Regions from separate parts of the Homo sapiens genome. Here regions 1, 2, 3, 4 and 5 are each linked to region 6. The links are contacts of gene promoters, found by promoter capture Hi-C in blood cells and fetal thymus (Javierre and others, 2016). All regions are on one chromosome and are shown on one strand. Each heading gives the region's core, a stretch centred on a gene start or on the middle of the fragment in contact. The rest is flanking DNA. Distances are from core to core; before and after follow the strand shown. Region 1 overlaps MITD1 (microtubule interacting and trafficking domain containing 1). Region 2 overlaps INPP4A (inositol polyphosphate-4-phosphatase type I A). Region 3 overlaps TSGA10 (testis specific 10). Region 4 overlaps TSGA10 (testis specific 10). Region 5 overlaps INPP4A (inositol polyphosphate-4-phosphatase type I A). Region 6 holds the start of MGAT4A (alpha-1,3-mannosyl-glycoprotein 4-beta-N-acetylglucosaminyltransferase A).

Evidence for each region. Contacts are between HindIII fragments. The CHiCAGO score rates a contact against its expected background, and 5 or more counts as called.
Region 1: a contact is called between a fragment that was not itself captured here and the fragment with the promoter of MGAT4A in region 6, in 3 of 17 cell types (activated CD4 T cells, total CD4 T cells and naive CD4 T cells). The highest score is 7.1, in activated CD4 T cells.
Region 2: a fragment that was not itself captured here is called in contact with the fragment with the promoter of MGAT4A in region 6 in 5 of 17 cell types (non-activated CD4 T cells, activated CD4 T cells, total CD8 T cells and 2 more); the score reaches 9.1 in non-activated CD4 T cells.
Region 3: a contact is called between a fragment that was not itself captured here and the fragment with the promoter of MGAT4A in region 6, in 3 of 17 cell types (M2 macrophages, M0 macrophages and M1 macrophages). The highest score is 9.0, in M2 macrophages.
Region 4: a fragment that was not itself captured here is called in contact with the fragment with the promoter of MGAT4A in region 6 in 3 of 17 cell types (naive CD4 T cells, activated CD4 T cells and total CD4 T cells); the score reaches 6.5 in naive CD4 T cells.
Region 5: a contact is called between a fragment that was not itself captured here and the fragment with the promoter of MGAT4A in region 6, in 4 of 17 cell types (non-activated CD4 T cells, total CD8 T cells, activated CD4 T cells and 1 more). The highest score is 9.0, in non-activated CD4 T cells.

Annotation. Positions count from the first base shown.
Region 1 is chr2:99,171,197-99,175,216 of GRCh38, forward strand. MITD1 (microtubule interacting and trafficking domain containing 1) reads right to left here. Exons shown (of 7, transcript NM_138798.3): 2 at 2,719-2,820; 3 at 314-450; 4 at 147-233. Among named protein-coding and RNA genes, the nearest start is that of MITD1, 7.9 kb to the right of the region's middle. The HindIII fragment of the contact is 1,183 bases long and covers 1,225-2,407 here.
Region 2 is chr2:98,449,629-98,453,997 of GRCh38, forward strand. All of the region lies in intron 1 of INPP4A (inositol polyphosphate-4-phosphatase type I A), which reads left to right. Among named protein-coding and RNA genes, the nearest start is that of INPP4A, 7.0 kb to the left of the region's middle. The HindIII fragment of the contact is 1,565 bases long and covers 691-2,255 here.
Region 3 is chr2:99,061,354-99,065,263 of GRCh38, forward strand. It overlaps TSGA10 (testis specific 10), which reads right to left. Exons shown (of 21, transcript NM_025244.4): 16 at 3,586-3,771. Among named protein-coding and RNA genes, the nearest start is that of C2orf15, 78 kb to the right of the region's middle. The HindIII fragment of the contact is 7,108 bases long and covers 1-3,910 here.
Region 4 is chr2:99,143,136-99,147,048 of GRCh38, forward strand. All of the region lies in intron 1 of TSGA10 (testis specific 10), which reads right to left. The region is part of intron 2 of C2orf15 (chromosome 2 open reading frame 15); the gene reads left to right. Among named protein-coding and RNA genes, the nearest start is that of C2orf15, 3.4 kb to the left of the region's middle. The HindIII fragment of the contact is 2,647 bases long and covers 735-3,381 here.
Region 5 is chr2:98,467,208-98,471,326 of GRCh38, forward strand. All of the region lies in intron 1 of INPP4A (inositol polyphosphate-4-phosphatase type I A), which reads left to right. Among named protein-coding and RNA genes, the nearest start is that of INPP4A, 24 kb to the left of the region's middle. RefSeq lists a silencer at 1,583-1,712. The HindIII fragment of the contact is 3,455 bases long and covers 423-3,877 here.
Region 6 is chr2:98,729,184-98,733,279 of GRCh38, forward strand. MGAT4A (alpha-1,3-mannosyl-glycoprotein 4-beta-N-acetylglucosaminyltransferase A) reads right to left here and starts at 1,949. Exons shown (of 16, transcript NM_012214.3): 1 at 1,865-1,949. It overlaps LOC107985922 (a long non-coding RNA gene), which reads left to right and starts at 2,098. Exons shown (of 2, transcript XR_007087150.1): 1 at 2,098-2,512. RefSeq lists silencers at 1,957-2,286, 2,307-2,496, 2,603-2,897. The HindIII fragment of the contact is 4,047 bases long and covers 1-3,939 here.

The DNA of each region.
Region 1 (4,020 bases), core at 566-3,065, 440 kb after region 6:
ACATGTTATGCATACTGTTAGATAATAAGTTAATTCCCAAGGAAACAAATCTAGCTGAAGCACTGCATCTGTGTTCTCCTTGACTGGACTACATCTTGTAACTGAATAAAGTTAATAAGAAAGAGTAAGTGCTTTCAGGTACCTACTTCATCCAGAGAGGTGAGAAGGTGAATAGTTTTTACTTTACATGGTCTCTTAATAAGCATCTCACAAAATCGAAGAAAGTTATACAGCTAAAAGACATTAGAATGGATTATTACTAATTTAGTACATTGAATATGATATTTCATTATATTTTAGTATGTTCACATACCTGATGAGTATGTCTAATATAAGGATCTTCTATCCAAACTTCTGTAACTGTCTCATTAAGGTATTCGCGAAAAAGTGACTCATAACTGAAACCTGTTGCATTCTCTTCTATTTTAATTTGCTTGTGATATTTTCCATCTATAAAACACAGGCTTCAACAGTAAAACCAGTGACCATTTTTTTTTTACACATTTTATATTTTATATAGAGTGATTAATCAGCATCAGATACATATTAATTTTTTTAACTTATTCAGCAAATACTTATTGAATGCCTACTAAATATCATATACATTGCAGGATGTTACACGTACAAAGGTATTTAAGGCAAACCACTCCATTAGTGATTTCTGCCTTCACAGAGGCTAGGCAAGGGGGAAAATCTAGAGGTTTCCTGGAACAGGTCCTTGAGCAAGATCCTATAGACCAGGCAGTTTGTTGAAGGGAGTAGTGTATATATAAAGGTATCCAATAACTCCCTGTCGCCATGGGTAGCACCACATACTGAAACTCAGTGGCTATCTGGTCCTCCTCTTCAGACTTGTCTTTTTATGTCTTGCAATCTAATAACTAAAGTGAGTATTAAACATGAATGCAGGGCAGAGCGCGGTAGCTCACGCCTGTAATCCCAGCATTTTGGGAGGCCAAGGTAGGTAGATCATTTGAGGTCAGGAGTTCGAGACCAGCCTGGCCAACATGGTGAAACCCCAGCTCTACTAAAAATATAAAAAGTAGCCAGGCATGATGTCAGGTGCCTGTAGTCCCAACTACCTGGGGGGCTGAGGCAGGAGAATCACTTGAACCCAGGTGGATGTTGCAGTGAGCTGAGATCATGCCACCGCACTCCAGCCTGGGCAACAGAGCAAGACTCTGCCTTAAAAAAAAAAAAAAAAATTAATGCAGTATAATATGAAGCTTCAAAGTCTTTCTTGGCACGTGTACAGTTTTAAACAGAAATTTATAGTACTTCTTAATAAGCTAAAGACTGGGATGTCACAGGATCAAGAGGATAGATCTATTGCTTTTGTTCATTCAAAATGAATATTGAAAAAGTTATCAGAAACCTTTAAGGTTTTAAAAAAATATGACCCCTGGCTGGGCATGGTGGCTCACACTTGTAATCCCAGCACTTTGGGAGGCTGAGGCGGGAGGATCACCTGAGGTCAGGAGTTAGAGACCAGCCTGACCAATATGGCAAAACCTCAACTCTACTAAAAATACAAAAATGAGCCAGGCTTGGCGGCGGGTGCCTGTAGTCCCAGCTACTCGGGAGGCTGGGACAGAAGAATTGCTTGAACCCAGCAGGCAGAGGTTGCAGTAAGCAGAGATCGCGCCACTGCACTCCAGCCTGGGCGACACAGCGAGACTCCGTCTAAAAAAAAAAAAAAAAACCCTAATGGTAGCCCCTAAATTATACTTTACACTTTGTTTAAAAATCAGTAGTTTGGATTCTGTTCCAAATATTTCCACATAGATAACATTGGCAACTATGCCTTATTTTTTAAGCCAAGATAGCCGTATAGAGGTTAATTTAATTCCATGTACTCAAAACCACAATGCTGGAGGTACTATATTTCATCAATGTTTTGGAGTAAAATTTCATTCTAAATTTCAAATCGGGGCTAAGGAAACATAACTTTATTCCCACTGAACAAAGGAGCTCAGTGGGGGGTCCCCAGGGTATGTACTGATACAGGATAGTAGGAAGAGATGGGGAAAGGGGTGTAGAAAGTATAGAGAGGAAGAAAAGCTGGGGCCTGGGGGCACTGGCTTTTGAGGGCAGCAGTACCTTTGGCTATAGAAAGCAGCAAGTATGCACTCAGGTAAGGGTGGAAATGGCCATTTACAGACATTTGTAAACTGGATGCTTAGGAGTAGGGAACTAATAATAGGGAACAATACCTACCTGACCTCTAATCATTAGGAATGCTTAACTCCTGAGGTGTTTTGATTCACAACAAAATCTGAGAGAAATCCCAGGAGTTTCTTTAGCTTCTTTCATGATTTTGGTCATTTCATAAAGGGAAATATAAATAAAATACACAATTTACATTCAGTATTCCCTGTAGTATTTCTTAACATAGGGTCCACACATAAGCTTCATAGGGATTTGTGAACCCCTTAAAAATGGCATGGAACATTCTCCAGTAAGTATAGCTTTCATGAGATGTTCAAAGGGGTGTCTGATATTCCCACCCCCAACTAAAAACAAAAGCCAAAACAAACAAACAAACAAAAAATTAAGAACAACTCCTGTATGGGAGTGGAAATACAGATTAAATCCTGTAAGCTCCCAGGGACAACTGGTCCAGACCACACAGAGCTCCAAAGGGCAGGAGCCAGAAACATTGGGTGAATGGACAGTCACAGTTGTTTATGGATGCATTTTCTAAAACAACCTCTTTACCTTCTTTTTCTTGGTCCAAGTACTTCTTTATGTTTTCCGCTCTGTCCATGTATTTGGAAATTTTTTCTCTGAGATTACATCTCTTAGTATTATCTTTGGTACCTACAAATTTAAAAATATATATTATCAAGTATCAAAATAGTTTTTCTATTTAATTTGGGCATTATTTTCAGTTTCTCAAGTTTTCTACAAATTTCCTATCCTCTAGTATGGCTTGCCTCAGTCCTCAAACACACACAATAAACTCAAATTTGGCTTGAACATACAAGACCTTCATATTTACACGAAGCGTGATGCAGCTTGGTTTAGGAGTGGGAGCTCTTGACACTATGTCTCATCTCTGGGACATCAAATCTGGTGGGATGAAAGGTGGCTCATTACATGTCAAACTCATGTCTGAGCACTATTTTATCCTAACTACCCACAAGTTTGAAATTTTTGCATAATTAAAAGTAGCAAAAAATATTTATCTTCCACAAAACCAGCTACTCTTCCAGACCTCCCCATTATAGTTAATGCACATTTTTCCAGCTACCACAAAAATGTTATTTTTGAATATACATGATCATAAAGTTTTACCCAACCACCCCTCCTCCCAAATCAGTCAACAAATCACTTCTTGTTCCTTCCCTTTTTTCCTTTCAACATCGCTTATATTTTCCATAAATAATCTCATTTTTTGTTTGTTTGTTTTGAGACGGAATCTCGCTCTGTCGCCCAGGCTGGAGTGCAGTGGCATGATCTCGGCTCTCTGCAACCTCCACCTCCCGGGTTCAAGCAATTCTCCTGTCTTAGACTCCTGAGTAGCTGGGACTACAGGCGCCCACCACTATGCCTGGCTAGTTTTTGTATTTTTAGTAGAGACTGGGTTTCACCATGTTGGTCAGGCTGGTCTCGAACTCCTGACCTCAAGTGATCCTCCTGCCTCGGCCTCCCAAAGTGCTGGGATTACAGGCGTGAGCCACCGTGCCCGGCCCATTTTTGTATTTTTAGTAGAGACGGCGTTTCACCATATTGGTTAGGCTGGTCTCCGACTCCTGATCTCAGGTGATCCGCCCACCTCGGCCTCCCAAAGTGCTGGGATTACAGGCGTGAGCCACACTGCCCAGCCAATAATTTCATTTTAATCTCTCATTTTAAAAAACATTTTGAGTTAATTTTTTATATTTACAGAAAAGTTGCAAAAATGGTACAGATAACCTCCTTCACCTAGATTCTCTTAATGTTAACATATCACAAACCATACTACAAGTATCAGAGCTAGGAAATTAACACTGAAACAATACTATGAACTTATCTACA
Region 2 (4,369 bases), core at 223-2,722, 280 kb before region 6:
TATAAAAACCGAGATGTAGGCACTATGTATTCTCGTTGCTACTGAGGTGTCACCCATTCTAGACCTTCTCAGGGGATAGATGCTCTCATTGTAAACATAAATGTAGTCACATTACACAAAATTTTCTGTGGCTTGCTTTTTAAATTTGTACTCCTTCCATTAGGCTTTGAAACTGTCTGTTTCCCTTTAACTTGGCCAACATTTAAGAGAATAAATCTTGTTAATTTTGCCAATCTAATGGGCAAGGAAGACATTATTGTTTTAATTGCATTTCCCAAATTACCAAAAATATTGGATACCTTTTCTTGTTAATGTATATTTTAACTTCTAATGAATTACCTGTTTATATCCTTTGTTCATTTTTTCTTGTTGGGCTGTTTTTCCTTATCTTACTAGATTGTGGAAGTTACGGTAACTTTGAATTTTATTCTTGGCAGCTTTAGAATGTTTTTTTAAGTGTGATGCTTTTTTAATTTTTTTTTAAAGTCCTAAATGACAAGGAACCCAAGCTTTTCTGAGTACCCCCTGCATGCCAGGCCTCCCTGGACATCCTGTGGGAGGTTCTGTCCAAAGGTGAGCTGTGGTGTTGAGGAGTGGTTAGAGCATCCCCCGAGGGTAGTTAAAAGAGGCTCAACTGGGACTAAAACCCAGTTATATCACCTAACTTCCTTCACAGGATTGAAAAATGAAAGCTTTTCAATGAGGGATAAAAATTGATTACCTGGATTTGCCAGTATCAACAATTTCTGTTTTCAGTATTTTGGTTTATAAATCAGGAATTTCTTTTACACAGTCCTTTTTGCTGAGCATACACATCTTTCGAAACCATTTATTTTATCCCTAGAACTATTGTGGACTCTGGTGCTGCACTTTCTGTGAGCATCCAGCTAGCTGTGTGACTTTGGGCAAGTGGCTTAATCTTTCTGTGCCTCAGTTATTTCATCCACAAAACTGGGCTGCTGGTAGTAGCAGCCCCAGAGGCTTGTTGGGGGATTAAATGAATTAACATTTAATCCTGGTGCCTAGTAAGTGTGCAGAACGGAAGCATTACAATGGATTCGTATACAGAGTGTGGGTGGTTGGCAGAGCTTGGAATTAGATCAGCCTTTCCTCTGTGGATTTAATCTCTTAGTTGTCTCTTTCTGTTTTTTTTGAGATGGAGTCTCACTCTGTCGCCTAGGCTAGAGTGCAGTGGCTCTAGCCTGCAACCTCGGCTCACTGCAACCTCCGCCCCCTGGGTTCAAGCAGTACTCCTGCCTCACCCTCCCTAGTAGCTGAGATTACAGGCATATACCACCATGCCTGGCTAATTTTGTATTTTTAGTAGAGACGGGGTTTCACCATGTTGGCCAGGCTGTTCTTGAACTCCTCACCTCAGGTGATCCACCCACCTCTGCCCCCCAAAGTGCTGGGATTACAGGCATGAGCCACTGCACCCGGCCTTAGCTGTCCCTTTCACCATAGCCTGTCTGGGATTGGAAAGCCAGGGTCCTGGGTGCAGTGTGCATGTCTCTTTCTGGTCTTTGCACATACCTTTGTCATGCCCTATCAGGCTGTCAGGCCCAGGCCTGCCAGCCAGCCAGCCCAGCTGGCCTCTGGTGTTTGCCCACAGCCCTAACCTGGAGCATGGGTGAGACTGCTGGCCTTTTAATATGAAACTTGTTCAGTGAGGCTCACCTGGCGAGGGACTTAGGCACAGTAAGCAGATGTATATGGTGGGGGCAGTGGGGGGATCATGCTCTGGTGAGGTCTATTTTCTGGAATAGGGTCAGGAAGACAGGGATGTCCTCTGATGTCCAGGAAGAAGGGTGGGGACCTCTGAAAGAGGAAAGTGTTTACCCGCTGCCAGCTCCGGTCCTGGGATCCTCCTAGAGCGCTTTCCCTGAGACACCTGGTAGTTTTCCTGACCTCCGGTTGCTGCAGCGCCCCTCTTTTTGCACCTCACTAGGTGGTATTCTGATGTCTCCTGAAAACCCCCTGCCCCTTTCCTGCCCCTCCCATAGCCCTCACGCAGGTGGTGTCAGCTGCTGTTATGGAAGCTGTCTATTATTAATTCACCCTAGCATATTGAACGCCCTTCTTTCCCTCTCTCATGTTGCTTGCATCTCTAAAGGGTGTATTCTCAAACCAATTAATTTGAATTTTCAAGAAGGATGACCTAAGTGTATAAACTCTGGAAATGTGAAGGAAGTATTTAGGCAGATGGTTGTTTCTGGGAAACAGGGCTCTACTAGGAAACAAGGATGCCCAGTTCAAGCTTCTCCCTGGATTATGGGGTGTGTCAGTTGGGATGCTTTTGGTTGCCAACAGTGACATTTATTATCTCAGAGAACTGGAGTCTCCATCAGCATGTCAGCAGTTTCATCAAGGACCTCGATTCTGCTCCTCTGTCCAGCCATCACTGCCGGTTTCATCCTAGGGGGTTAGTCTCCTCATGATTCTGAGATGGTCGTTGGGGGCAGTGGGACTGCGTGCTTCCTTGTTCCTGTCCAGCAGGAGCAGGGAAGGAGACAAAGCAGCTGATTCCCCAGCCACAGTGTCTACCAGTCCTTCCCTCTGGCCTGTGGAGCAAAGGGTCACGTGGCCTTCCCTGGACCAGCAACATGAGGCTGTGAGAGTGCTGTGTGCTGGTTGGCTTAGGCTGGTGGTCCTCCAGGTGTGGTCCTCAGACCAGTAGCATCAGCATTACCTGAGAACTTGTTAGAACTGGAGATTAGTGGATCCTACCCCACCCACTGAATCAGAAACTCTGGGATGGGGCCCAGAAAGCTGTGCTTTAAGAAGACTTCCAGGTGATTCTGATGCAAGGTCACATTGGAGAACAGCTCTTTTAGTTTAATCAAGACTCCCCTACTCCCCAGCTGGAGACAGGGCTGACTTTTCCTGAGGACCGGGGAGGAGGTTAGGTCCTAGAATAGCAAGAAGGAAGAGAGGATGGTGGGTGGCCAGCCCACAGTGTGAACTAGCCAGTGTTTACGGCCCTGGGGGCCGCTTTGCTCTCCGGAGTCCTTCCCCTGCCCCCCATTCGCCAGCTTGTCCACCCATATAAGTTTCTCAGCCCCCTTGCCTCAAGCTTCTCCAGCTCCTCCAAGCATGGCCTGTACTCTCCCTGTACAGCTCGGTGCTAAAGGAAGCAACCTCAGTAACACTCCAGCTCCAGGTCCCTCTCTGGCCTAGCAGGGATGGAGTCTACCTGGCTGGTGCTGAAGAGTCCCAAAGAGCTGTTATGACTCACCTTCTGAAGCCATTCCTGAAGTGTGTTCATTTGTGTAGGGGTTGCCTACGCTGCTACTCCTTGCTCAGCTAGGAAAAAAGAGCAGTGCAGTTAGTAGGTGCTTGAGAAATATTTAGGGAATTGGCCTGGAGACAGCCCAAGTGACTACTTTCAGTGGTGATTTTTACCTGTGTTATGTCCCCTTTTTTGCAAGTACAACTCCAACTTGATGTTTGGGTGAAATAAATAGCCACCTCCACGGTGTAATTTGTGAGATCACAATGACCCACTTTTCCGAATTTTTCCTGAAACTAAAGAGTTGAGATATTTCTGGGTTTTCAGCTTTAAAGATTCATCTTAATACATAAAAATAACGTTTAGGAGTAGTCTTGCACTGAGCTCTAACCACATTAGCACTAATTATTGCGGAAGGAAGGGCACCTGAGGAGGAAACATGCTAGAGAAGGGTCCACACAGCATGTTTCAAAATGCAGTGGTTCATGAAATCAATTTGAGGTTGTAACTGGCATTAAAAAGCTTTTTGAAATAGCAAATATCCAAGTACGTTTCCTATGGGAAGGATAAGCATTTTTTGGTAAAACATCTAGTTATTCACATGTAGTGTATTTGGGGTGTTGTTATGGTGTGACTGTTTCTTAGAGTGGATTTTGGTAAAGATGTGTCAAACCCTAGGGCTGAGTGCAGGGGGTCCTAACCTGTAGGAAGGTGGGGCCTACGCTGGATGTGTATACACTTGGGGTCTTTTCCTGGGCGTGCGACCTGTGACTTTTGTCAGAACCTGGTGGTCTGTGACTCGCCATAGATCAAGAACCAATGACCTAAAACCAGAGGAGACTTTCAGTGGTGAGGGCCAGTGGGAGTGGAGCTGGGGGCGTGAGGAGCAGGCACAAAGTCCTGAGCCTGGTCCTGCTCTGGCGTATTGTTCGTGGTAGTAAGCCATCTGAGCCAAATCCTCCTGATGAGGAGTCCTCTGCACAGCCACACTGACAGACAGGAGAGACAGTGGCAGGCAGTGTGTTGATCACCTGAGGTCGGGGGTTCAAGACCATCCTGGCCAACGTAGTGAAAACCCGTCTCTACTAAAAATACAAAAATTAGCTGGGTGTGGTGGTGCACACCTGTAATCCCAGCTAC
Region 3 (3,910 bases), core at 883-3,382, 330 kb after region 6:
AATACCAAGTGTGGGAGAAGATTTAGAGCAACTATCACACAGTGCAAGCGGGAGTGTAAACTGATATAACCACTTTGTTTTTTGTTTCCATCTCCTCCAGCATTTATCCTTTGTGTTACAAATAATACAATTAGACTCTTTTAGTTATTTTTAAATGTACAATAAATTACTGTTGACTATAGTCACCCTGTTGTACTATCAAATACTAGATATTATTTATTCAATTTGTCAGGTTTTTACAAAGTTAAGCATACTTACCATATAATCCAGCAATTCCACTCCTAGTTATTTATCCAAGAAAAATGAAAACTTACATGAACGCAAAGACTTGAACACAATGTTCACAGAAATTATATTCCTCACGGCCAAAAACTAGAAACAACCTGTTATGGACAAAACTGTGTCCCCTCCAAATTCATACGTTGAACCCTAACCCCCTAGTGTGACTATATTTGGAGATAGGACCTTTAAAGAGGTAATTAAGGTTAAATGGGGTTATAAGGATAGGATCCTAATCCAACATGACTGGTGTCCTTATAAGAATAGGGAGAGACACCAAGGATGTGCATGCACAGAAGAAAGGCCATGTGAGAATGTAGCAAGAAGGCAGACATTTGCAGACCAAGGAGAGAAGCCCCAGAAGAAACCAAACCTTCCGGCACTGTGATCTTAGATTTCCAGTCTCCAGAACTGTGAGAAAATCATTCAGAGGGAAATAAACAAATCCACAGTTACAGAGGAAGATTTTAACATGTCTTTCAGTATTTGAGAGATCAAGAATACAAATATAGTAAGGATTTATAAGACTTGACTGACACTATTAACAAGCCTAATCTGTAAATATATATAACATACATATATGTGTCCACCAAGAAGTGAGCACAGATGCTTTTCAAGGTCATGTAGAATATTATCAAATATTGATTACATAATCTGCCACTAAGCAATTCTTAGCAGATAACAAAGAATTAATTATCATAAGCCATTTTATCTGATCACAATATTAGAAACATTAGACAATAAGATATTAGACACAACAAAGTAAAAATAGACTAATAACCTCAAGTCCCCTGCACATTGGAAAGTTTTTTAAAACTTCAGGTCAAGTGTGGTGGCTCATGCCTCTAATCCTAGCACTTTGGGAGGTTGAGGTGGGAGGATCACTTGAGGCCAGGAGATCAAGACCAGCTTGGGCAATATAGTAAGACTCCATTGCTACAAAAATATTAAAAATTAGCTGGGTGTGGTGACTCACACTTGTAGTGTTAGCCACTTGGAGGCTGAGACAGATGGATCACCTGTGCCCAGGAATTGGAGGCTGCGGTGAGCTATGATTGTACCACTGCACTCCAGCCTAGGAACAGAGTGAGACTCTGTCTCAAACAAACAGACAAACAAACTTTAGTAATTAAAAATAAATCATAATGAAACGAGATGATATTAAAAACTGAATGGCAATGAAAGGATTATCTCAAAACTTGTGGGCTGCAGGTGGCTGCACCCAAAAAAATAGAAATTTCCAGTCTTCAATGCATAGAAAAGAAATAAAATCATGAAATCTGATACATTTATTCTAAAATTCATCTGAGACAGGTTAATAAGGACCAAGTACAGTCCAGATAATTTGAGGGAACATTAATTCTTCCAGATATCAAGACTCAACATAAAATTATAATAGCTACAAGAGTGTGTTATTGACAAGGGGATAAATTGACCAATGGAGCAGAATGTATGGGAACTTATTTTTATGACAAAGTAGACTTGACTTATATTTCAGAGAAGAAAGGACAACGGATATCTATTCACAAAAATAAAAATTATATGTCTACTTCGAACTGCACAAAATCAATCTCAAGCAGGTTAAAGTCCTAAATGTAAATGGCAAAATTTCACATACTTTCAAACATTTAGAAGAACTTTTAAATGAAAATATAGGAAAATATCTCTCTGGCCTTGGGATTGTATAGGATTTCTTAAAGAAGACATAAAAGTATAAACTATATAGGAAAATATTGATAATAATTCTGAGTATATCAGAACTGAACATGTCTGTTTATACTGCAAGGAAGGTGAAAAGACAAGCCACAGACAAGGACAATATAATTGTAATATCTTTAAGAGGATTATTATCAAGAATACATAGAGAATTCCGTTAAAAATCAATATGAAGGCAGGGTGTGGTGGCTCAGGCCTGTGATCCCAGCACTTTGGGAGGGCAAGGTGGGTGGATCATGAGGTCAAGAGATCGAGAACAGCCTGGCCAACATGGTGAAACCCCATCTCTACTAAATACAAAAAAAAAACTAGTTGGCCAGGGTGGTGCGCACCTGTAGTCCCAGCTACTTGGGAGGTTGAGGCAGGAGAATCACTTGAATCTGGAAAGCGGAGGTTGCAGTGAGCCAAGATCACGCCACTGCACTCCAGCCTGGCGACAGAGCGAGACTCCATCTCAAAAAAATATATATATATGAAAAAGATAAGCTATGCAATAGAAAAATGGCCAAAGTTTACAAAAATTTCATTCAAGAGAAATTCAAGAAAATGTTCATAGAGGAAGAATCCTAAATGGCAAAGAAACATGAAAAGGTCCTCAATTTCACTTGCAATCAAGGAAGCACAAGACAAAAAGTATGGAAAAAATTGTCTGACAATATCAAGTATTGATTCACATTTGAGAAAATAACTCAGGATTTCTTATGGCAGAATGACACTTTAGAGAGCAATTTGACAAAAACTTAGAAGAGCTGAAATTGCACATATCTTGGATCTACTCCAGGCATATAGCTTTTTAAAATTCACTTCCAGGCATAAATATAGGGAAACATGTAGTCAAGGAGAAATGTAAAAGGTTTGTTGCAGTGTTTTATCACAGAAAAAAGTGAAAAAAAATTAACTTTCCTTCAATATGGGAATGAATTTTAAAAAGGGAATATTTATACAATGAATATATGCAACTGTTTGAGTAAAGCAGTACACTATATATATATCAAAATAGATGTGTCAAAATTATAATATTGAGCAAAGAGGGCAAGTTGCAAATGAATATCTCCAACTATGTTTGTTTTCACTTAAATAAAAACCAAAACATACCAAATAACATTATACATTATTTGTGGGTGTAAGATTGTAGAAAAAGTATAAACATATGCAAAGGAGTTAGACACACTGACAGGAAAGTTATGCACACCAGCAACTAGGGAGGTAGGAGGGAAAAGGATGAGAGAAGTTTTATCTGTAATGTTTTATTTCTTTAAACAAGGAGACATTTGAAGCAAACATGGCAAAATGTTAGTATCCTTACATGTGGGAGCTGGGGATATGTTTATCTGTTTTGTTACTTTTGCACTTTTATGGTATGTTTGAAATAGTTTCTAATTTTAACAAATGCTAATGATTGTTCTGGATGTAGGGTAGATAAGAGATTGTAGAAGAATCAAAGTATAAGGAGAATGGTTAGCATGCTACAATTCACAGTACATTTAAATAATTTACGTGTTTGTTCATACATTTAATTTATGGAAGGCCAAACAAAACTCTTTTAAATATGATGCAGGATGTATTATAAGCATATTTTTCCAAACTTACTTGCTCAACCTCTCTGTTGAGGGAATCTACTTTTTCTTTTAATCTGTTACCCTCTGCCTCAGCAGTGATAAGTTCCAGTTTGAGGGTATTGTTATCTGCCTCTGATTGACGGGCTTTATTTTCCCAGTTTTCAGCATCTTCATTGGCTTTTCGAAGTTGTTCCATCATTTGCCGGTTCTCAGATTCCTGAAAAGCAAACTTTAGCTATTACTTTAAAATGCTGAACATATGATAAAAATTAAACATTATTATCCAAGTCATTGGGAATTCACTTGCCATGAGAAGCGTTTATAATAGAACCCTGAGGAAATATATCTATACTCTT
Region 4 (3,913 bases), core at 808-3,307, 410 kb after region 6:
TTTTTTTTTTTTTTTTTTTTTTTTGAGACAGAGTCTCACTCTGTCGCCCAGGCTGGAGTGCAGTGGCACGATCTCGGCTCACTGCAACCTCCGCCTCCCGGGTTCATGCCATTCTCCTGCCTCAGCCTCCCAAGTAGCTAGGACTACAGGCGCCCACTACTACGCCCAGCTTTTTTTTTGTTTGTTTTTTGTTTTTTGTATTTTTAGTAGAGACAGGGTTTCACTGTGTTAGCCAGGATGGTCTTGATCTCCTGACCTCATGATCCACCCGCCTCAGCCTCCCAAAGTGCTGGGATTACAGGTGTGAGCCACTGCGCCCAGACTTTTTTTTTTTTTCCTTTTTTTTAAGACAGAGTCTCACTCTGTTGCCCTGTACCCAGGCTGGAGTGCGTTGGCATGATCTCAGCTCACTGCACCCTCCACCTTTCAGGTTGAAGCAGTTCTCCTGCCTTAGCCCCTTGAGTAGCTGGGACCACAGGTATGTGCCACCATGCCCAGCTAATTTTTGTATGTTTTTGTAGAGATGCGGTTTCACCATGTTGCCCAGGCTGGTCTTGAACTCCTGGACTCAAGTGATCCACCCACCTCAGCATCCCAAGTGCTGGGATTATATGCATGAGCCACTGTGCCTGGCCCAGGCTAAGCCTTATATAGTACCCTGTGCTTGCTCTCTCGTGACAGACACCTTCTAAGGTCTTGGTTTTCTAGTCCCTTAATTTTTCCATCATTTCAAAAGCTTCACTACAAAAACCTCTGTTATTACTATTTTTTGTTTTGTTTTCACTGTCCTCTTCCTGATCCCCTCAAAAAAAAATCTGGGACTCCAATTCCATATGTGTTAAGCCACTTGATCTTGTTCCACAGCTCACTGATGCTGTGTTCCTTTTTTTTGTTTGTTTTTTTGAGATGGAGTCTCGCTTTGTCTCCCAGGCTGGAGTGCAGTGGCGCGATCTCCGCTCACTGGAAGCTCTGCCTCGCGGCTTCACGCCATTCTCCTGCCTCAGCCTCCCGAGCAGCTGGGACTACAGGCGCCCACCACCACGCCCGGCTAATTTTTTTGTATTTTTAGTAGAGACGGGGTTTCACTGTGTTAGCCAGGATGATCTCGATCTCCTGACCTCATGACCTGCCCGCCTCGGCCTCCCAAAGTGCTGGGATTACAGGCATGAGCCACCGCGCCCGGCCTGTGTTCCGTTTTTTAAATCAGAGAGTTTCCTCCTTATGCCGAGGCCTGAAAGTTCCAGGCAATGTCCATTCATAGGGCTCACTTTATTTCCTGTTTCTCAAGGATCACTCTCCCGAACTGCCTGTTGTCCAATATCTAAAAGCCATTGCTTCATGTGTTTTGTGTTTTGATGCTGAAAGCAGGCGGGGCACGGTGGCTCATGCCTGTAATCCAGCTACTCGGGAGGCTGAGGCAGGAGACTTGCTTGAACCCGGGAGGCAGAGGTTGCGGTAAGCCGAGATCGTGCCATCGCCCTCCAGCCTGGGGGACAAGAACAAAACTCTGTCTCAAAAAAAAAAAAAAAAAAAAAAGATGCTGAAAGCATGAGGATAAGTCTGGTCTCTGTTACTCCATCATGACTAGCAGCAGAAGTCTGCCATTCTTCACAGTTCCAGGCCCCATGTCACTAACTATCCTCAAGGGATGTGGTTTGCAATGCAAAAATTGCTTCAGGCTGGGGGAACTGTAAGTGCAAAGGTCCTGAAGCAGGAGAAGGTTTGGCATAGAATATGCTTGAGGAACAGCAATGGGGTGATAGGTCTGGGGTCGAATAAGGCAAAGAGACAGGAGAGAGTGCTTGCTAGTAGAGTTGTTTGCTACGGCTGTGCAACAATTTACCACACACTTGGTGTCTTTAAGCAACACAAATTTATTATCACACGGTTCTGGAGATTTACAAGTTCAAATTGGGTCTCACTGGGCTAAAATCAAGATGTCAGGCAGGTCTACATTCCTTCTGGAGGCTCTAGGGGAAAATCCCCTTTCTTGCCTTTCCAGCTTCTACTGGCAGCCCATGTTCCTTGGCTTGTGATCCCAGTCTATATTCAACGCCAAAAATGGCCAGTCAAGTCCTCCTCACATTGCATCATGGCTAACACATTCTACCTCCCTCTTTCACTTCTAAAGACTCTTGTGTGGCAGGTGCGGTGACTCACACCTATAATCCCAGCATTTTGGGAGGCCAAGGCAGGTGGATCACTTGAGGTCAGGAGTTCAAGACCAGCCTGTTCAACATGGCAAAACCCTGTCTCTCCCCAAAAATACAAAAATTAACTGATCGTGGTGGCAGGCACCTGTAATCCCAGCTACTTGGGAGCTGAGGCACGAGAATCACTTGAACCCAGGAGGCGGAGGCTGCAGTCACCCTAGATCACACCACTGCACTCCAACCTGGGCAACAGAGTGAGACTCTGTCCCAAAAAGAAAAAAAAAAAAGACCCTTGTGATTACATTAGTACCACCCAATTAATCCAGGAGAATTTTCCCACCCTCAGAGTCAGCTGATTAGCAACCTTAATTCCCCCTTGCCACATAACATAACATAGTCCCAGCTTCTGGGGATTAGGACAAAGACATCTTTGAAGACTATTATTCTGCCTACCACAGCTGGGGACCAGATATGTAGATAATTTTTTTCTCTGATATGGGAAGCAACTAGAGTGTGTTGAGCAGAGGACTGCTGTGATCTGGGTTTTGTTATAAAAGGTTCAAACCAGTCCAGGCATGGTGGCTTACGCCAGTAATCCCAGCACTTTGGGAAGTGGGAGGATTGCTTGAGTACAGGCATTCGAGACCAGCCTGGGCAACACAGTGACACCCTGTCTCTACAAAAAAAATGAATTTTAAAAATTAGCCAGATGTGGCCAGGTACGGTGGCTCATGCTGTAATCCAAGCACTTTAGGAGGCCAAGGAGGGCAGATCACTTGAGGTCAGGAATTCGAGACCAGCCTGGCCAACATGGCGAAACATCGTCTCTACTAAAAATACAAAAATTAGCCGGGCATGGTGGCAGGTGCCTGTAATCCCAGCTACTCGGGAGGCCTCAGCAGGAGAATCATGTGAACCCAGAAAGGCGGAGGTTGCAATTTCTTTGCAACTTGAATTTCTCTGATTCCTAGTTAATTATCTGTTTGGGATTCCTCAATCTGTGAATTATGTTTTTATATCCTTTGCCCATTTTTCTATTGGGTTTTCTTTTTCCTTGCTAATTTCTAGGTGTTCTCTTTTTATTCCAGCCATTAAATACCATCAGCTTTGGACACAGAAAATATCTCCTTCCAGTCTCTTATCTATCTTTTTGTTTATATTTTTTTCATTGAATAGAAATTCTCAATTATGAGTAATCAAACTCACTGTTTTCCTCCCTTATTGTTTAAGCTTTTTAGTCTTGTTCAAGAAATCTTTCTTCACTCCAAGGTAACAGATATTTTCTTCTATTGCATTTACAGTTCTGCCATTCACATTTAGGTCTTTAATGCATTTGCACTCCACTTTTTTTTCTTTTTGAGACGGAGTCTTGCTCTGTCGCCCAGGCTGGAGTGCAATGGTATGATCTCAGCTCACTGCAACCTCCACCCCCTGGGTTCAAGCGATTCTCCTGCCTCAGCCTCCTGAGTAGCTGGAATTACAGGCACCCGCCACCACACCTGGCTAATTTTTGTATTTTTAGTAGAGACAGAGTTTCACCATGTTGATCAGGCTGGTCTCGAACTCCTGACCTCGTGATCCGCCCACCTCAGCCTCCCAAAGGGCTAGGATTACAGGCGTGAGCCACCGCGCCCAGCCTACTTCTGTGTTTAAGATCCTGCTTATGTCCACATAGTTAGCCAATGTTCACGATACCATCATACTAAACTTAGTCTGTTCTATCTCCTTTGTCTTATAGTGCCACCTGTGATATATGTGAA
Region 5 (4,119 bases), core at 900-3,399, 260 kb before region 6:
CCTCAAAGCGGGGGGTGGTTGGGGGAGGGCATTAATGTATACATGAGGGATCTGCCCCCATGACCCAAATACTTCCCATTAGGCCCCACTTCTGACATTCGGGATTAAATTTCAGTGTGGAGTTTGGAGGGGACAAACATTGTCCTCTTGTGCCTGTGCCACACTTGCCCCTCCGTCCCCCTCATCTGCTGATGATTCATCACACTGTTAACTTGGTCTCTACATCTGTTTAAACGCTTTCTCCTTTCCCCTATTATGTTGCTGTTAAGACTGTGAAGCTGTCAGCAATGTTAGCGACACCGTCCACATGTGGGGACAACAGGTCCAGTGAACCTAGCATCATCAGTGTCCTTTGCCCTTGGAACTGAGTGGAAATTATCTTCTCAGCCTCCATGGATTTAACTTCTGTGTTCTTGATGTGAAGCTTCTTTTCCTTAAGTTAGAGTTTTTGCATATACATCCCACACATACACTTGCATTTGATTTTCTTGTCTGTATATGCACACACAACACACACTTGATTTTCTTGCACCATAATAACGTTTTTCTGATTTTAAATTAGAAAAGGACAAATGAGTTGAATAGTTATCTATTAGTTATAGATAATTATCTATTATCTAATTATTATCTAGTTCTCTATTTAATAGTTATCTATTAGTTATTAACTGTCTAATAGTTATTTATTTCTTGGGAACTTAAGTACCAACTTAGTGGTAATTTTACATGAAATGAAATGTTCTCTGGGTTCCAGATAACTTATAAATGGGCTTTTAGAGTACAGCCTGTTGGTTGAACAGGCCGTAAGTTCAGCCTCATCTTTGTCGAGTTCCACAACTAAGTTTTACAATTATTTATGAATGATAGTGCTTAGCATACTTTCCAACTCAGTGAGACCATGAACTAATTGAATTTGTAATAACCCTGAGTAAATCTTAGTGGACTAATAGTAAAACTTTGAGGTTTTACAGTAAGAAAGTGAGATCCTTAGATATACCAATTTTAATGTCTCAGTAAAGAAAACAATTTTATTGATTGATTGATTGATTGAGACAGGGTCTTGCTCTGTTGTCTAGTCTGGAGTACAGCCATGTAATCATAGCTCATTGCAGCCTTGAACTCCTGGACTTAAGTGATCCTCCCACCTCAGGGTTCTGAGTAGTTGGGAGTACAGAAATGCCTTACCATGCCTAAATTTTATTTTTTATTTTTTTGTAGGGATGGGGGTCTTGCTTTGTTACCCAGGGTGGTCTTGAACCCCTGGCCTCAAATGATCCTCTCACCTTGACCTCCCAAAGCGCTAGGATTTCAGGTATGAGCCACCATGTATGGCTGAAAACAGAAAATTTATAAGGTGCCACTAGGGGAGGGTAATAAAGGAAGGAAGGGGAATGAAATCCAAACCAAAATAAATGCTGTTTAGTGTGTGGCTGGTGGGTCGCATTTCTCATTCTAAGAACTGTGGCATTTCTTTTTGATGGTTCTGTTGATCCTGAAACCAGTGAGACTGCAGTTTGTGAAGGATGATGATAGAAGTCGATAACTCCTCATGGTTCATTGCTGGACCATGAGTTTAGCTGTAACTAGATGCAAAGCTCATGGCTGAGATTGAGAGCCAGAGAGACCCAAAGTCTCTACATCACGCCCACACTGGTACTTCCAGCCTAGGAGGCGTGGTGAATGCCTCCCACAGTGGTTGCTGAGATGGCTTTGAGCAGAGCAGAGATGAGTCAACCATGGCAGGATAAAGTGAACAGCTGGGAAAAGGGGTTTTGGGGGCTGGGGGTAAGGGGAACTGGAATAGTGTTGCAATTTTCCCCATCCTGGCTGTACCTTACCATCACCTAGGGGCTTTTGAAAAACATGGCAGCCTGCCCTCCACCCATGCTGTGCTAATTAGTGTAATCCTGGGTGGGGCCAGCATGACATTTGCCACCTTTCCCATGAGGTGATTTGGAGGTACAGCTGGGGTGGAGAGCAGTGGGCCTTAGAGGTTTAGAACCCAGCCTCCTGGCTGGGCACGGTGGCTCACGCCTGTAATCCCGGCACTTTGGGAGGCCGAGGTGGGTAGATCACGAGGTCAGGAGTTCAAGACCAGCCTGGCCAAGATGGTGAAACCCCATCTCTACTAAAAATACAAAAATTAGTCGGGTGTGGTGGCTGGCATGCGCCTGTAATCCCAGCTTCTCGGGAGGCTGAGGCAAGGAATGGCTTGAACCTGGGAGGCGGAGGTTGCAGTGAGCCGAGATCGCGCCATTGCACTCCAGCCTGGGCAACAGAGCAAGACTCCGTCTCAAAAAAAAAAAAAAGAACTTGGGCCGGGTGCGGTGGCTCATGCCTGTAATGTCAGCACTTTGAGAGGCCAAGGCAGGCAGATCACCTGAGGTCAGGAGTTCGAGGCTAGCCTGACCAACATGGAGAAACCCTGTCTCTACTAAAAATACAAAAAATTAGCCGGGCGTTGGGGCGCATCCCTGTAATCCCAGCTACTTGGGAGGCTGAGGCAGGAGAATCCCTTGAACCTGGGAGGTGGAGGTTGTGGTGAGCTGAGATCACGCCATTGCACTCCAGCCTGGGCAGCAAGAAAGAAATTCCGTCTCAAACAACAACAACAACAACAAAAAGAACTTGGCCTCCTGATGAAATAGGCCCACCTGTTTCAAATCCCCACATATTGGTGTTGAGCCAGTCTCTTAGATGCCGAGCCTCAGTCCCCTCCTTCTCTCAGGCTGTGAAGGTGAACTGTGATGTGCAGAGCTGCAGCATGTTCTGCTGTGCACCAAGGAGGGTTCCACAGTCATAGAGGCATAGTCATGACTGATGTGAAAGGGCCAACGCACGTGACCTCCTGCCCCTGTCCGTCCACATCTCACTTGGTAAAACCACAGCCCTGGTTCTGGCCACTTCTCAGCACAGTGGCCTGTGGCTGGAGAAGAACACATGACATGTTGATGAGTCTGTAAATTCATGACCACAGAGCTCCAGTGAGCCATTGGGAGTGCTTGGCACTCAGAGTGTTTCCCTGTGGTCCTAGACTGGGGAGCGGCCCCTGGATTTTAAAGAGCTCTGGACCCAGTGGTGCAGGTGGGGAGACCTGGCCCCTGGAGGCTGACCCAGTGCACGTGCAGCCCCACCTGGGGTTCCCCTGATTGGACTCCTGCCTCAGGAGGGGCATGAGACTCACTTGGCGCTGCTTCTGAGCTCTAAGTCCTTGCTCCTTAGTGGTCTGTCCCTTCCCTCCGCAGGGAGGCATGGCCCGCTGGGCTTCGGCCCCTGCAAGGAGGCCTGGTGGGGCCTTTCGCCTTCTCAGCCAGGCACTGAAGGAGCAGGAAGGGGAAGCATGATACCAGGACCACAGGAAGAAGTGGTGCTGAGTTGGGTGGTCACTTCCTTGGTGTGACCTCTGGTTAGACGTGGTTCAGGGCCATGTTGCAGGAGGAGCTGGAAGACATTTCTTTTTTTCTTTTTTTTTTTGTTTTTTGAGACGGAGTCTTGCTCTGTTGCCCAGGCTGGAGTGCAGTGGCGCGACCTCGGCTCACTGCAAGCTCCGCCTCCCGGGTTTAAGCTGTTCTCCTGCCTCAGCCTCCCGAGCAGCTGGGACTACAGGCACGCACCACCACGCCCGGCTAATTTTTGTATTTTTAGTAGAGACGGGGTTTCACCATGTTAGCCAGGCTGATCTCGAACTCCTGACCTGGTGATCCACCCACCTTGGCCTCCCAAAGTACTGGGATTACATGCGTGAGCCACCGCACCCAGCCACTGGAAGACATTTCTAAAGAAACCATCACCATCCTTCTCTGAATAGGTTTCAGTGTGGTTTTATGTTTGTTGCAACCTTGTTGACCTGTAGTTTCAGAAACCAGAATGGTTTGGCCCAAGCTTTTGATTTGAGATCACACTAAAATAGTTTTAGCTGAGGGTGTTGGAGGTGCCTCCTGTGTATATGAGTGTGCGTGTATGTGGTGTGCCTGTGCGTGCATGCATGTGTGTGTCTGTGGCTTCACTGTAGATGGCCGTTGTGAATGATGTCCTGACCTGAGTCCTGTGAGAAACACTGTTGAGTTACTTCACAGTCATTCCACACAGGAGAAAAGGATGAATGACCCTGTTGGGTTAAAA
Region 6 (4,096 bases), core at 699-3,198:
GGATCCAGTAAGTTATGAAACTCTGAAGATACTTACAATAAATTCTACTAGCAAATAAGCCCTGAAATTTTGCAAGAAAAATATGCGTGTTTTACTCAGTAAGAATGTAGTCATACATTTTTAATTAGGGTTTCCCAGCTAATAAGTTTAACTGCACGGCACAAGTGAAGAAACTCTTCGGACAAGAGTAAAACCAAGGATCTACTCACTCTTCAATTATGAGACATAATTCACAGGCTGGCTTGTAAGACACAGGTGACCCACATTTTTATTAGTGTCCACATTTGCAAAAATTTTAATCTAGCCCCTTAATATTCTCGGAGACTATAATCTAACACGTTTGAATCTTTAACAACAACAAAAAAAGGTAGTGGCTAAAATTGCTAGTCATTTCTCCACCCTCCCAAAGGTGAATGGAACTTTCAACTCTAGACATCAGACTGTTTTGTTAGCAATCCTTTAAGGGCTTCAGTCTTCATTTTATTATTGGATACAAAACCTTTACTTATTTTAAAGTGTTCTCTGAAATACTCAATATAGTCCACGGCTGAGAACACTTTGCCGAACGTTTGGCATCTTCCTTAATCAGCATCCCACAGACAGGGTAGAGGTGACTTAAGAATGAAAGGCACAATAATCCCTGATATCTGGAATCAATAAAATCCATGACGTAAGCCTATATAACTTTACACACCACAATTGTGGCAAAATTCATTTATTTGCCATTTATAAACGGGTCAGTAGTTTTCTTTAATACAGCTTACGTAATGTCATCGCCCAGTGCGTTTTCGGGTTTACACGTGTGGGTTAAAGAAATCTATGTCAAGATAACCTGTTCATCAAACTGTTTTTTAAACATTCAGAAAAAGAAACATAAACCACAAAACGCATATTTTTATTCTAAATTTACAGTCTACGTTCCAACGAACGACTGTCATTATCTTTTATCAAATAATCTGTCCAACAGCAAAAGCACAACAGCAAAATACGTGGAAAGCATTCAAAGCATACATTGTGCCTGCTTCTATTTTCCAATGCGGAATGTAGGCAATGAAACCGCTCCAGAGAAACACACTGTTGCGAGGAATAAAGGCGGGTGTGCAAGTGGCTCGACTGCCAGCTCAGAAAAGCTCGCCTCCGAGATGTCACCTGGCACACTTGGTGGAGTCACCGAGACCCAGCCTCAGGGTCCTACTGCAGCTTCCTCATTACGGAGAGAGCTGAGGCCTGGGGAAACGGGGGCTGCTCTTTCACGCGGGCCCCGCAGCCCTTCACTTTGTGTGAAAATTCCCTGCGAAGGCTGCACGGCCGGTCCCCTCGGGAGCAGCCCCTGCCCCTGCGCCTCGGACCGTCCGGCCCCGCCCACCTGCCCCGCGGCCCCCGCGAAAGCGCCGACTCCCGCGCAGCCCCCGGGTCCCACAGGCAGCTGTCCCTCCCCCTCCGCACCCCCCGGATCAGCACTTTGCTCCACTTTCCCCCAAAGTCGCCGAGCCCCGCCACGCCGGGGAGCGCCAGGAACGCACCAGGCGCCGAGCCGGCCGCAGAGAGGGCGCGCGACCCCGAGGGGTGCGCGGTGCGGGGCAGGGACGCTGGGAGGACGGCCCGGCCCGCGCCCCGCCGCCCGCCCCCGAGGCCCAGCCGCTCCCGGAGCCGGCCCCGCGCCCAGAGGCGCCAACAGCTCCCCCGCACAGAGCTCCGGCCGGGCCGCGGCGCAGTAGGCTCCTTTACCAGCAGGTGGATCTCCCGCAGCCCGGGGCCGCCAGCCCGGCCGCCGGCGCCGCCCCCAACTCCCGCGCCCTCCGCGCAGCCGCCCCGCGCCCCCTCCCGCCCCCGCGCGCCGCCGCTGCCGCCGCGAGCCCCTCACCCGCCGCTGGCGTCGCCGTGCTCCCGCGGCTGCCGGCGGAGCTGCTGTAGCCGCCGCCGCCGCTGCCGCCGCCGCTGCGGGCCGCCCCGCCCGCCCCGCCGGCTCCGCCCCCGCCGCTGGAGCGCCCGCCCCGCCCCGCCCCGCCGGGCCGCCCCGACCCCGCCAGCCATTGGCCGGCCCCGCGGGCCCCGCGCCCCGCGCCCCGCGCCCCACCAGTGGCCCGCGCGACTGTCACTTAGGGGCGCCGCCACGCAGCCTGCGGAGCGTTCGGGAGGCTGGCCCGGCTCATCGGTGTCACGGCGAGGTCCGGAGCGGAGCCGCGGTCTCGGGTCCCAGCTCTGGGCGCCGGCCTGCTCCCCGCCGCCCCGCTGCCACATCTGGCTGAGATCCTCCCGGCGCGTGCAGGGACCGCTCCGGCGGCCAACAAAGGCCCGGGCGAGCCCTCGGCCTGCGCCTCGGCGCGCGACCCGACCACCCGGGGCTGCCCCAGCTCCCAGGCGCCTGCCTGCCTCGACCCGGCCCCTTCCCAGCGGCGCGCCCCGCTCCGGGCCGCCCAAACTGGGCGGCCTCCCCGGGGACAGGTCCCGGGCCCAGCCCCACAGGAGCTCCCGAGGCCCCGCGGACGGTCGCGACAGCCCCAACTTCCCGGTGAGAACCCCGCGAATCGGCCAGAAGGGCTGATTTCAGCAACTGGGAAGGAGAAAAACAACTAGGGTTTCAACGCACATCGTTGGGTGCTAATGCCCCTGATTTTCCACTATGCCCCGTTTTCTTGAACCCCATGTCCTTATCTGTCGCCGTTTCACAAGGTTAGAGGTTAACTTCAAAGGCAAAAAACTGACTCGTTTGTAGAAAGCCTGGGTGGTCTGTCCCTGTTTTTCATAGTATCCATAGGACTTGTGCTAACAGTAACTACCCCTGGGTACGTCCTCTTTTGAATACTTAACTGTATAGCAGGCAACCGTATAGCAGGCATGGGTGTTAGATCGTTTATTGCATATCTCATGTTTTAAATTTATTCCCCATTTTTCATAAGAGGAAACTAGCTGAGAGGTGAAAGGGCTTGCCCAAGGTCACACAGCTGGTAATGGTTCAAAAACAAGGGATGTGTTAACTTTATTGCCGCAATAATCCTTACAGCAATCCTACCGAGTAACCTGTAAGGGAATTGAGGGGCCAAAGATCAAGGAGGCAGCCTTGTTCCTGCCAAACTCCCAAAGTAATAAGTAGATTCTTTTCAGAAAACAGTAATTTCAATAATCGAAAACTCTTAAGAGGCATCAATCAGAACAGGGTCCCCTCCCCACCTCCGATAAATTCCATTATTTTTATCTCAAGATAAGAATAATTAATAATCAGCTAGAACATGCATGGAGTTATCAGCCTTCCCATGTTGAGGTTTCTCCATGACGGCTAATTTAAAACTTCAGGAAGAGACACGTAACATCCCTGCTCCCATAGTCTCTTACTAGTTTAGGGGAACCATACCAAAAGATCTGTCCACTGCCCAGCACTGTGGACACAACTTGGGGGATCACAGCCATGATATCCAATGACAGCTCTTCCCTCTACTTTGAGTGTGTTTTCTCTCTACTTCCGGTTTGGCTGTGTCCCCACCCAAATATCATCTTGAATTGTAAATCCCACAATTCCTGTGTGGTGGGAGGAACCTGGTGGGAGGTAATTGAATCATGGGGGAGGGTCTTTCCCATGCTGTTCTCGTGATAGTGAATAAGTCTCACGAAATCTGATGGTTTTAAAAAAGGGAGTTTTGCTGCACAAACTCTCTTTGCCTGCCACCATCCATGTAAGAAGTGACTTGCTCCTCCTTGCCTTCCACCATGATTGTGAGGCCTCCCCTGCCATGTGGAACTGTAACTCCATTGAACCTCTTTTGTCCGTTGCCCAGTCTTGGGTATGTCTTTATCAGCAGCATGAAAACGGACGAATACATTGGGGACCTGAAAGCCAGGTTTCCTGTATTCTATGACAAAGCCATTGCCAAGTAGCAAGCTGGCAATTTGATTCATGACCAGATGTAAACAGAGGTAAAGACTGAGACCATTCCAAGGTAAAGCTTTTAATACATTGTTGGATATATCCTGCCTAAAATATCTCCTAGGAATAGATGATTCTAGGCTTTGCTATTACAGTGCTCTTAATGACAGACAAGCAAACTACTTCTTGCAGAGGAAGAAAGTCCTGCCATTTGATAACATCATGGAGAATGCC